Regions from separate parts of the Homo sapiens genome. Here region 1 is linked to region 2. The links are contacts of gene promoters, found by promoter capture Hi-C in blood cells and fetal thymus (Javierre and others, 2016). All regions are on one chromosome and are shown on one strand. The core of a region is centred on a gene start or on the middle of the fragment in contact, and the rest is flanking DNA. Distances in the headings are between cores, read along the strand shown. Region 1 overlaps GTF2IRD1 (GTF2I repeat domain containing 1). Region 2 holds the start of GTF2IRD1 (GTF2I repeat domain containing 1).

Region 1 (4,143 bases), core at 599-3,098, 110 kb after region 2:
CCACCCGCCTCGGCTTCCCAAACTGCTGGGATTACAGGTGTGAGCCACCATGCCTGACCACGTCATACTTACGATTTGCCGGTTACAAAGCCCACTCACGTTACCACGTCATCTCCCCAAGTAGCTGGCCTTATTGGAGGGGACTGAGGCTCAGAGAGATTAAGCAGCTTTCTCAAGGTCACACAGTAGTGTGGTAGAGATTTGAACCTAAGTCTTTACCATTTTATTATACTTCGGAACCCAGGGCAGGCTCTACCACTAGCCTAGGGCTTGTTGTGTGTCCCTGAAGTGGGTTGCAGCCACGCCCTCTTTCCCACCACCCCTCTGGTCTCATCCACACAGGGTGGCTCTTTGCTGTCCCCTCCTGGCTACCAGCAGCTATTACACTGGTCCTGCCTGTGTAAACCTTTAGGCTTGTAGTTAATCCTTTGAGTTCATTTATTTGTACAACAAAAATGTATGGAGGGCCAGGCGCAGTGGCTCACGCCTGTAATCCTAGCACTTTGGGAGGCTGAGGCAGGCGGATCACAAGGTCAGGAGATCAAGACCATCCTGGCCAGCATGGTGAAACCCCGTCTCTACTAAAAATACAAAAATTCGCTGGGCATGGTGGCGCATGCCTGTAATCCCAGCTACTTGGGAGCCTGAGGCAGGAGAATCGCTTGAACCCGGGAGGCAGAGGTTGCAGTGAACTGAGATTGCACCACAGCACTCCAACCCGGCGACACAGCGAGACCCTGTCTCAAAAATAAAAAAGAAAAAAAAAAGGAGAGAGAGGTGGAAAGTCCGCAGGTGAAGCCCAGGGAGAAACTTACTGAAGGGGGTGATTGGTTGCACCAGCCTCTGCTGGGAGGTCAGTCCTAATGCCTGAGAGTAGACGGAGGTGCTAAGCAACAGGTTGCAGTGGGATGGTTCAGAGCAATTTTGGGGGAAGTGGTGGGGACCAGAGTGGAATAGTGGGCTCAAGAGACAATGAGAAAGGCAAGTGATTGAATCTGCCAAGGACCAAGCACCAAAGTGCCAGCTCACTGCCACCCTCAGTAAAGACTAACTTGCCCTTTCCCCCAACTCCCCTCCCAGAAGTAGCTTGCTCTCCTCTGCCTGCCACACATCGGGGGGGTCAGGTCTAAAAGGATCACCTTTTAGAGGGCAGGAGAGAATGAACAAGAGTTGAGAGTGGAATGGCTGCAGAGAGGGCTTTCTTTTTTTTGGTGGAGGGAGGGGACAGAGTCTCGCTCTATTGCCCAGGCTGGAGTGCAGTGGCGTGATCTCGGCTCACTGCAACCCCCGCCTCCCGGGTTCAAGTGATTCTCCTGCCTCAGCCTCCCGAGTAGCTGGGATTACAGGCGCGTGCTATCGCGCCCGACTATTTTTTGTATTTTTTAGTAGAGATGGGGTTTCACCATGTTGGCCAAGCCGGTGTCAAACTCCTGACCTCAAATGATCCACCTGCCTCAGCCTCCCAAAGTGCTGGGATTACATATATGACCCACCACACCCAGCCAAGAGAGGGTTTTAGAGGTAGGAACAGCAGCTGCATGATCTTCAGCAGATTCAGTAGAGAGGGAAGTGAGCTGTGGGAGAGGAAGGAGGATGGGGGGAATGGCAAGAAAAGGAGCACCCTGCTTAGAAAGGGAACGGAGCTGGGTGTGGTGGCTCACGCCTGTAATCCAGCACTTTGGGAGGCCGAGGCAGTAGGATCACTTGAGCCCAGGAGTTTGAGACCAGCCACATAACAAGACTGCATCTCTATTTAAAAAAAAAAAAAAAAAAGAAGGAGAAAGGGCCGGGCGTGGTGGCTCACGCCTATAATCCCAGCACTTTGGGAGGCCCAGGCGGGCAGATCACAAGGTCAGGAGATCAAGACCATCCTGGCTAACACAGTGAAACCCCGTCTCTACTAAAAATACAAAAAATTAGCTGGGCGTGATGGCGGGCACCTGTAGTCCCAGCTACTTGGGAGGCTGAGTCAGGAGAATGGCGTGAACCCGGGAGGCGGAACTTGCAGTGAGCCGAGATTGTGCCACTGCACTCCAGCCTGTGCGACAGAGCGAGACTCTGTCTCAAAAAAGAAGAAGAAGAAGAAGAAAAAGAAAGAAACAGGATGGGTGGAAGAGGGTTGCTGAATGCTCATGCAAGCTCCTCTCTGCCTGCTCCTTCTCTCAGGGAGGGACAGGGGAGGGTGATGAGTCAGTGGACTAAATGTCCCCATGGGGATGAAGGACAGTTGGGGTCAGGTTTCTAGAGGGAGGGCTGGAAGGAGGGAAGGAGATGGCCAGAGAAGGATGTGGGACACAGAGGTGCCGCCATGGATCACCAAGAGGTTCAGGACTGGCCAGAGGGAGGAGAAGAGGTCAAGGTACGTGTGGGGCACTTGGATGACGCATCTGTGCCTGCACACAGCTGAAATCCCCAGGAAATAAGACGGGAGCAGGGTGGGTTTCTGCAGCCGAGGTGAGACCAAAATGCCAGCTCACTGCCACCCTCAGTAAAGACTAACTTGCCCTTTCCCCCAACTCCCCTCCCAGAAGTAGCTCACTCTCCTCTGCCTGCCACACATCGGGGGGTCAGGGAAAGCTCCCCCTCCCTGAGGAGCTGGTGTTCCCTAGGCCAGGGGCCAGTCCCTGCAGAGATTAGGAGCTGGGAAATCCCCTCCTCCCATCCCGCACGTCCACGCGTGCCAGACCCTGTGCTGTGGGCTTTTCACACACAGCCTCTTAGACGCTTAGCCTGTGAGGTGGGTGCTGTTGTCCTTCCTTCCCATTTTGTAACTGAGCAAACAGCCTGAAACAGACAAAAATCAGGTAGTTAGCATGAGGCCAAAGCCACTCCCTGGTCTATGCTGTTCTGCGGCCTGAGCCTGGGGTGGCCAGGTGGGGTTGTGCAGTGAGGGGGGGATGGAGAATAGCCCCCAAAAATGCTGCCGGAATGGTAAAGGGCCTAGCCTGCAAAGCTAGTAACTTGAGCTTTATTTTGTGGCACTGGCGGTTTTTCCAGTCATTGTAATGATACGATCAGATTTGCGCTGTCTTCAGGTTACCATGGTAACCATATTTCCACCCACCAAGGGTGGATTAGAGAAGGCAAAACTAGGGCAGAGAAGCCAGGGAGTGTTGAGAAGGTCTGAACCCAGGCAGTGGGCAGCTGGGCCCCACGATGGATGGGGTTAGGATCTAGAGGCAGCAGCAGGGTGTGAAGAGGGCGGAAGGTTCCGGAAGGGTGATGGTGGTGCTCGTCTCTAAGGCTGGGTCTGTGGGCTTGTGAGACACATCCAGGGGCCCATAGTGAAACCTGAGTGGTATTTAGTGCAGGCAGGGTGGCAGGCAGGCTGGGGGCCTCTCAGAAGCGTGGAGCTGGCAGAGAGAGACCTGCCCGGGGCATCGGAGGAAAGGGCGACTGTGCAGGAACAGAGTAGACGAGGTGGGGGAACCTTTGGGTAAGAAGAGCTGAGTCAGGAGCATTGAGGCAGCGGTTTTCAAACCTCAGAAGCAACAGCAGGGCCGGGCGCGGTGGCTCAGCCTGTAATCCCAGGACTTTGGGAGGCTGAGGCGGGTAGATCACCTGAGGTCGGGAGTTCGAAACCAGCCTGGCCAACATGGTGAGACCCTGTCTCCACCAAAAAATACAAAAATTAGCCAGGCATGGTGGCGGACGCCTGTAATCCCAGCTACTCGGGAGCTTGAGGCAGGAGAATCGCTTGAACCTGAGACGCAGAGGTTGCAATGAGCTGAGATCACACCACTGCACTCCAGCCTGGGTGACAGAGCAAGACTCTGTCTCAAAAAAAAAAAAAAAGCCAGACACAGTGGCTCATTGCCTGTAATCCCAGCACTTCGGGAGGCCAAGGCAGGAGGATTGCTTGAAGCCAGGAGACCAGCCTGGGCAACATAGTGAGACCCTGTCTCTACAAAAAATGAAAACATTGAGCCAGTGTTGTGGCACACATCTGTAGTCTCAGGTACTCGGGAGGCTGAGGAGGGAGGATCGCTTGAGCCCAGGAAGTCAAAGCTGCAGTAAGCTGTGATCACACCACTGCACTCTAGCCTGCGAGACAGAATGAGACCTTGTCTTTCAAAAAAAAATTCTAGAATTGTTCTTGAATAGCAGTGGTTAACGTTTTTTAAAAGCTTTGGAAGGTAGTGA
Region 2 (4,321 bases), core at 1,822-4,321:
TCTACCATGGGGGCCACACTGTGGTCCAATGAGAAGCTGCAGGAGGAGGGAAGTGGAGACTCACAGAGGAAAACTGACTTGCTCAAGGTCATGCAGGTGATTAGACAAAGAGGCAGGGGCCAGGTGCGGTGGCTCACACCTGTAATCCCAGCACTTTGGGAGGCCGAGGCGGGCGGATCACGAGGTCAGGAGTTTGAGACCAGCCTGGCCAACATGGTGAAACCCTGTCTATACTAAAGATTAAAAAATAAATTAGCCCAGCGTGGTGGCGCGTGCCTGTGATCCCAGCTACTCGGCAGGCTGAGGCAGGAGAATCGCTTGAAACTGGGAGGCGGAGGTTGCAGTGAGCCGAGATCATGCCATTGCACTCCAGCTTGGGTGACAGGGCAAGGCTCCGTCTCAAAAAAAAAAAAAGAAAAGAAAAAGAGAAAGAGGCAGGGTGGGAGACGACCTGGGTCTCAGAGGGCCACACAGGAGGGTGCCTTGAGATGTCCCAGACCTCCTTACAACAGGAGGGTGGTGAAGGATGGAGGGAGCATTGGTGACTTCATTCCCAACCCTGACATGGCCCAACATCCTCTGTGGGCATGAGGGCCCCTCTGCGCCCTGCCTTGTGCTGGGCACTGCAGATGTGGCCTGCCTGGGAGGAGCTCTCAGTCTGATGGGTTTGTGGGTTTCCTATAGGAGACCTGGTCAGCCAAAGTTAACCCTCACCAAGTTCCTGGTGTGTGTCCAGAAGAGACCCCAGTGTAATTGTCTGACGGGTGTTCCTGCCGCTGCACAGGAAGAATTCACTGAGACCATGGTATTACAGCGAGAAATAGTTTTATGTTTCTTAATTTTTAAAATTTTTTAGACAGTCTTACTCTGTCGCCCAGGCTGGAGTGCAGTGGTGCGATCTTGGCTCACTGCAACCTCCGCCTCCCAGGTTCAAGCGATTCTTATGCCTCAGCCTCCTAAGCAGCTGGGATCACAGGTGCCTGCCACCACGCCCGGCTAATTTTTGTGTTTTTAGTAGAGACAGGGTTTCACCATGTTGGCCAGGCTGATCTTGAATGCCTGACCTCAAGTGATCCACCTGCCTCGGCCTCCCAAAGTGTTAGGATTACAGGCATGAGCCACCGTGCCTGGCCTAATTTTTGAAACACAGTCTCACTCTGTCACCCAGGCTGGAGTGCAGTGGCTGAATCTTGGCTCACTGCAGCCTCCACCTCCTGGGTTCCAGTGATTCTCATGCGTCAGCCTTCTGAGTAGCTGGGATTACAGGCATGCACCACCACACCCGGCTAATTTTTGTATTTTTAGTGACCAGGTTTCGCTGTGTTGGCCATGCTGGTCTTGAACTCCTGACCTCAAGCAATCCACCCACCTTCGCCTCCCAAAGTGCTGGGATTACAGGCATGAGCCACTGAGCCCAGCCAAAAGCGTCTTATTAATGCAGAGCTAGCCAAGCAGTAGGACTGGAGTTATTACTCAAATAAATCTCCCCAAGAACTCAGAGGCTAGGGTTTTTATGGATAATTTGGTGGGCAAGGGCCCAGGGAATGGGTACTGCTGATTGGTTGGAGATGAAATCACAGGGGTGTGGCAAACGGTCCTTATGCACTGAGTCGGTCTCTGAGTGGGGGCCACAGGATGGGCTGAGTCATGAGTCACACAGGTCCAGGTGAGTCAGTCGGTTGCCCGAATGCGAAAGTCTGAAAAACATCTCCAAAGACCAATCTCAGTTTCCACAATAGAGATGCTATCTATAGGAGGAAGTGGGGAACTCACAAATCTTGTGATCTCTCGCCACATGACTCCTGAGCAGTCAGATTATAAAAACGATGCGTAGGTTTTAGCAGCGTCCAGGCCCCTCCCATAATCCTAATCTCACGGCCTTTCGTTAGTTTTACAAAGGTGGTTTTGGTCTCTTGTATAAAAAGCAGGTTAGGTTTAAGGAGTAACTATTATCATCCTTGTTTCAAAGTTGAACTATAAACTAAATTCCTCCCCCGGTTAGCTTGGCCTATGCCCCGGAATGAGTGAAGACAGCCAGCGCGTGAGGCTGGAAGCAAGATGGAGTCAGCCACGCTAAACTTCTGTCACTGTCCTAATCTTTGCAAAGGCAGTTTGGCCAGGAGGCTGTGGGGAGACCTTGTGGGTTTTGCCAGGACCTGGGAGATTCTCGATCTATGTTTGGCTGTCCTTCTAAGCCAGAAGCTCCCTGGGGTTGGGGCCTGCCTGGGGTGAGTCCCTCCCTCCCTGCCATGCCCAGTCTAGCCAAGGTCTAGTTCAGGGATCAGGGCACCACGTGGGGGAAGGACTGTGTTCCTTGTGCTGAATTAGGATTTATGGCTTTGGGGCCGGATGGGAGGCGTGCGCACTGATTCAGTAGGAGCGCTGCTGTGGTGTGTGTGTGGTTGGTGGGAGCGGGGCGGGCGGGGGGCGGGGGGGCTGGTTGGGGGGACAGGGGTAAAAGCCTATCAGAGGGAGGTCCCATCAGACAAGATGGGACCAAGAGTCCAGTTGGCTCTGCTGCGACTTTCGGCCTGTCACTGCCTTCCTGCACATCTCAGGGGTGGGAGGGGGACAAAGGCTGTAAGAGTAAGAGGTACCTGGCCCAAGCCTTAGGACTAGAACCCGGGCCAGGCGGGAGTGACCAGCCGGGACACTCAGGGCCTCCGCGCGTTCCAGCTGGGTGACCTTGACCCTCCAACTTCAGCCCCCTGCGCCCGGCTGCTCTCCCAGTGGTGGTGGGGAGCGGTGGGGGTAGACGGGGGCGCGCCCAGGCTTTTCTAATCCGGCGCTGGTGGGGGAGAACCGAGGGCGCCACCGCCCCTCCCCGCAGGTCCGGGGCCGAGGGGTGCGGCGCGCTCTCCCCACCGCGGTGCCCAGGTCCCCGGGACGCAGGGGCGCTGGGTAGCAAGGGGGGTGCGCAGGGGCGCGGGGCGCGGGGCGGGCTAATCCCGTATGTAAATGGCAGCCAATGGAGGGTGGTGTTGCGCGGGGCTGGGATTAGGGCCGGGGCGAATGGCTGGCAATCTTACTGGGATTACAGAACAAAGAGCCTCCCCGCGCTCCCGCTCTCCGCTCCTCTCCCCGCGCCGCCCCGCCCTCCGCCGCAGCCCGCGCCGGGGGTGGGGGCCGCCGAGCGCCAGCCCCCCGGCCGGCCGATTCCCCCCCCGCGCCCCCTCCCCGCGCCTCCCTCCCCGCCCTCGCCGCGCCGCCGTCCTCGCCTCCCTCTGCCTCTCCTTCCCCCATTCTCCCGGATTAATTAAGGAGGCAGCGGCAGGAGGCTGAGTCCTGGCCGCGGGCCGGGGCCGGGGCGCCGCTGGCAGGAGCGCTTGGGGATCCTCCAAGGTAGGAGAAACTTTTGCGGGGGGCGGGCACCGAGGCCCTTCTCCCCTTCTCCCCCACCCCCGCCCCCGATCCCCTCCGCCTCCGGGGGGGGGGGTCCCCGCCCCTCCCCCTCTCAAGGTGTTACAGGAGCTGGGGCCGGCTTTTGGGTGCCCGGGGAGGCACGTGACTGGGATTATAATTCGGGCCCGGGGGGAGGGGAGGGACGGCCGCCCCCCACCTGCCCGGGAGGGGCCGGGAGCTGGGAGCTGTCACCCCCTCCCTCCTTGCCACCGGCTCTTCTGGAGGTGGGGGGCGTCCCGGGCCGGCGCCCGCAGGCTGCTGCAGTTGGCGAATGAGGTCAGTCGCGCTGCCCGCGGTGGCGGGCGCCGGGGTGGGAGCAGAGGGGGCTGGGAAGGCCGCGGTCCCCGCCTTTCCCCCCTCCACCTTCTCCCGGTCTGGGCCAGCCCCTGGCCCGCGCCCCCAACTCCCAGGCGGAGTCCAGTCCAGCCAGGATTGCCCCAGCAGGGTGGTTCCTGTAGTGGACCCCCCGCCCCGGCCCCGGGGAGGGGGCTGGCCTGTGTGGTGGTGGCCGCTGAATCCCGGGTGGAGGGGACTCAGAAGGTGGCAGTGGGGGGACCACAAAGGGTTCAGAGGAGTAAGTTGGGGATACTCGGTCTGTGGGTGGTCTCTGAGTTCCTGCAGATGGGTGGAGAGGACAGAGGAGGGGCCACAGGGTGCTGAACACCCACCCGCCCCATCCTAAGTACCCTGGGCATGATGGGCTTGACACCTCTCCTGGGCTCCTCACCCCTGGCCAGCAGCCAGGGAGTGAGACCCTGCCTCGCCTGGCGTGGGCCCAGGGAAGGGGGCCGCTGTGCCGCTGAGAGTTCGTTCCACCCTCCTGGCAGTGCTGGAGGGGGCTGGAGCTCTGGCGTCTGGCCTAGTGACCCTACCTCCCAGGACCAAGGTCCTGCGGTGGGAGTCTCCTGTGTCCCCATCC

What was found. Contacts are between HindIII fragments. The CHiCAGO score rates a contact against its expected background, and 5 or more counts as called.
Region 1: a fragment that was not itself captured here is called in contact with the fragment with the promoter of GTF2IRD1 in region 2 in 14 of 17 cell types (megakaryocytes, fetal thymus, activated CD4 T cells and 11 more); the score reaches 16.2 in megakaryocytes.

Annotation. Positions count from the first base shown.
Region 1 is chr7:74,566,583-74,570,725 of GRCh38, forward strand. The region is part of intron 22 of GTF2IRD1 (GTF2I repeat domain containing 1); the gene reads left to right. Among named protein-coding and RNA genes, the nearest start is that of MIR10525, 27 kb to the right of the region's middle. The HindIII fragment of the contact is 4,554 bases long and covers 1-4,125 here.
Region 2 is chr7:74,450,835-74,455,155 of GRCh38, forward strand. GTF2IRD1 (GTF2I repeat domain containing 1) reads left to right here and starts at 3,072. Exons shown (of 27, transcript NM_005685.4): 1 at 3,072-3,342. RefSeq lists an enhancer at 1,368-1,887 and silencers at 2,773-3,122, 3,625-3,694. The HindIII fragment of the contact is 10,217 bases long and covers 1-4,321 here.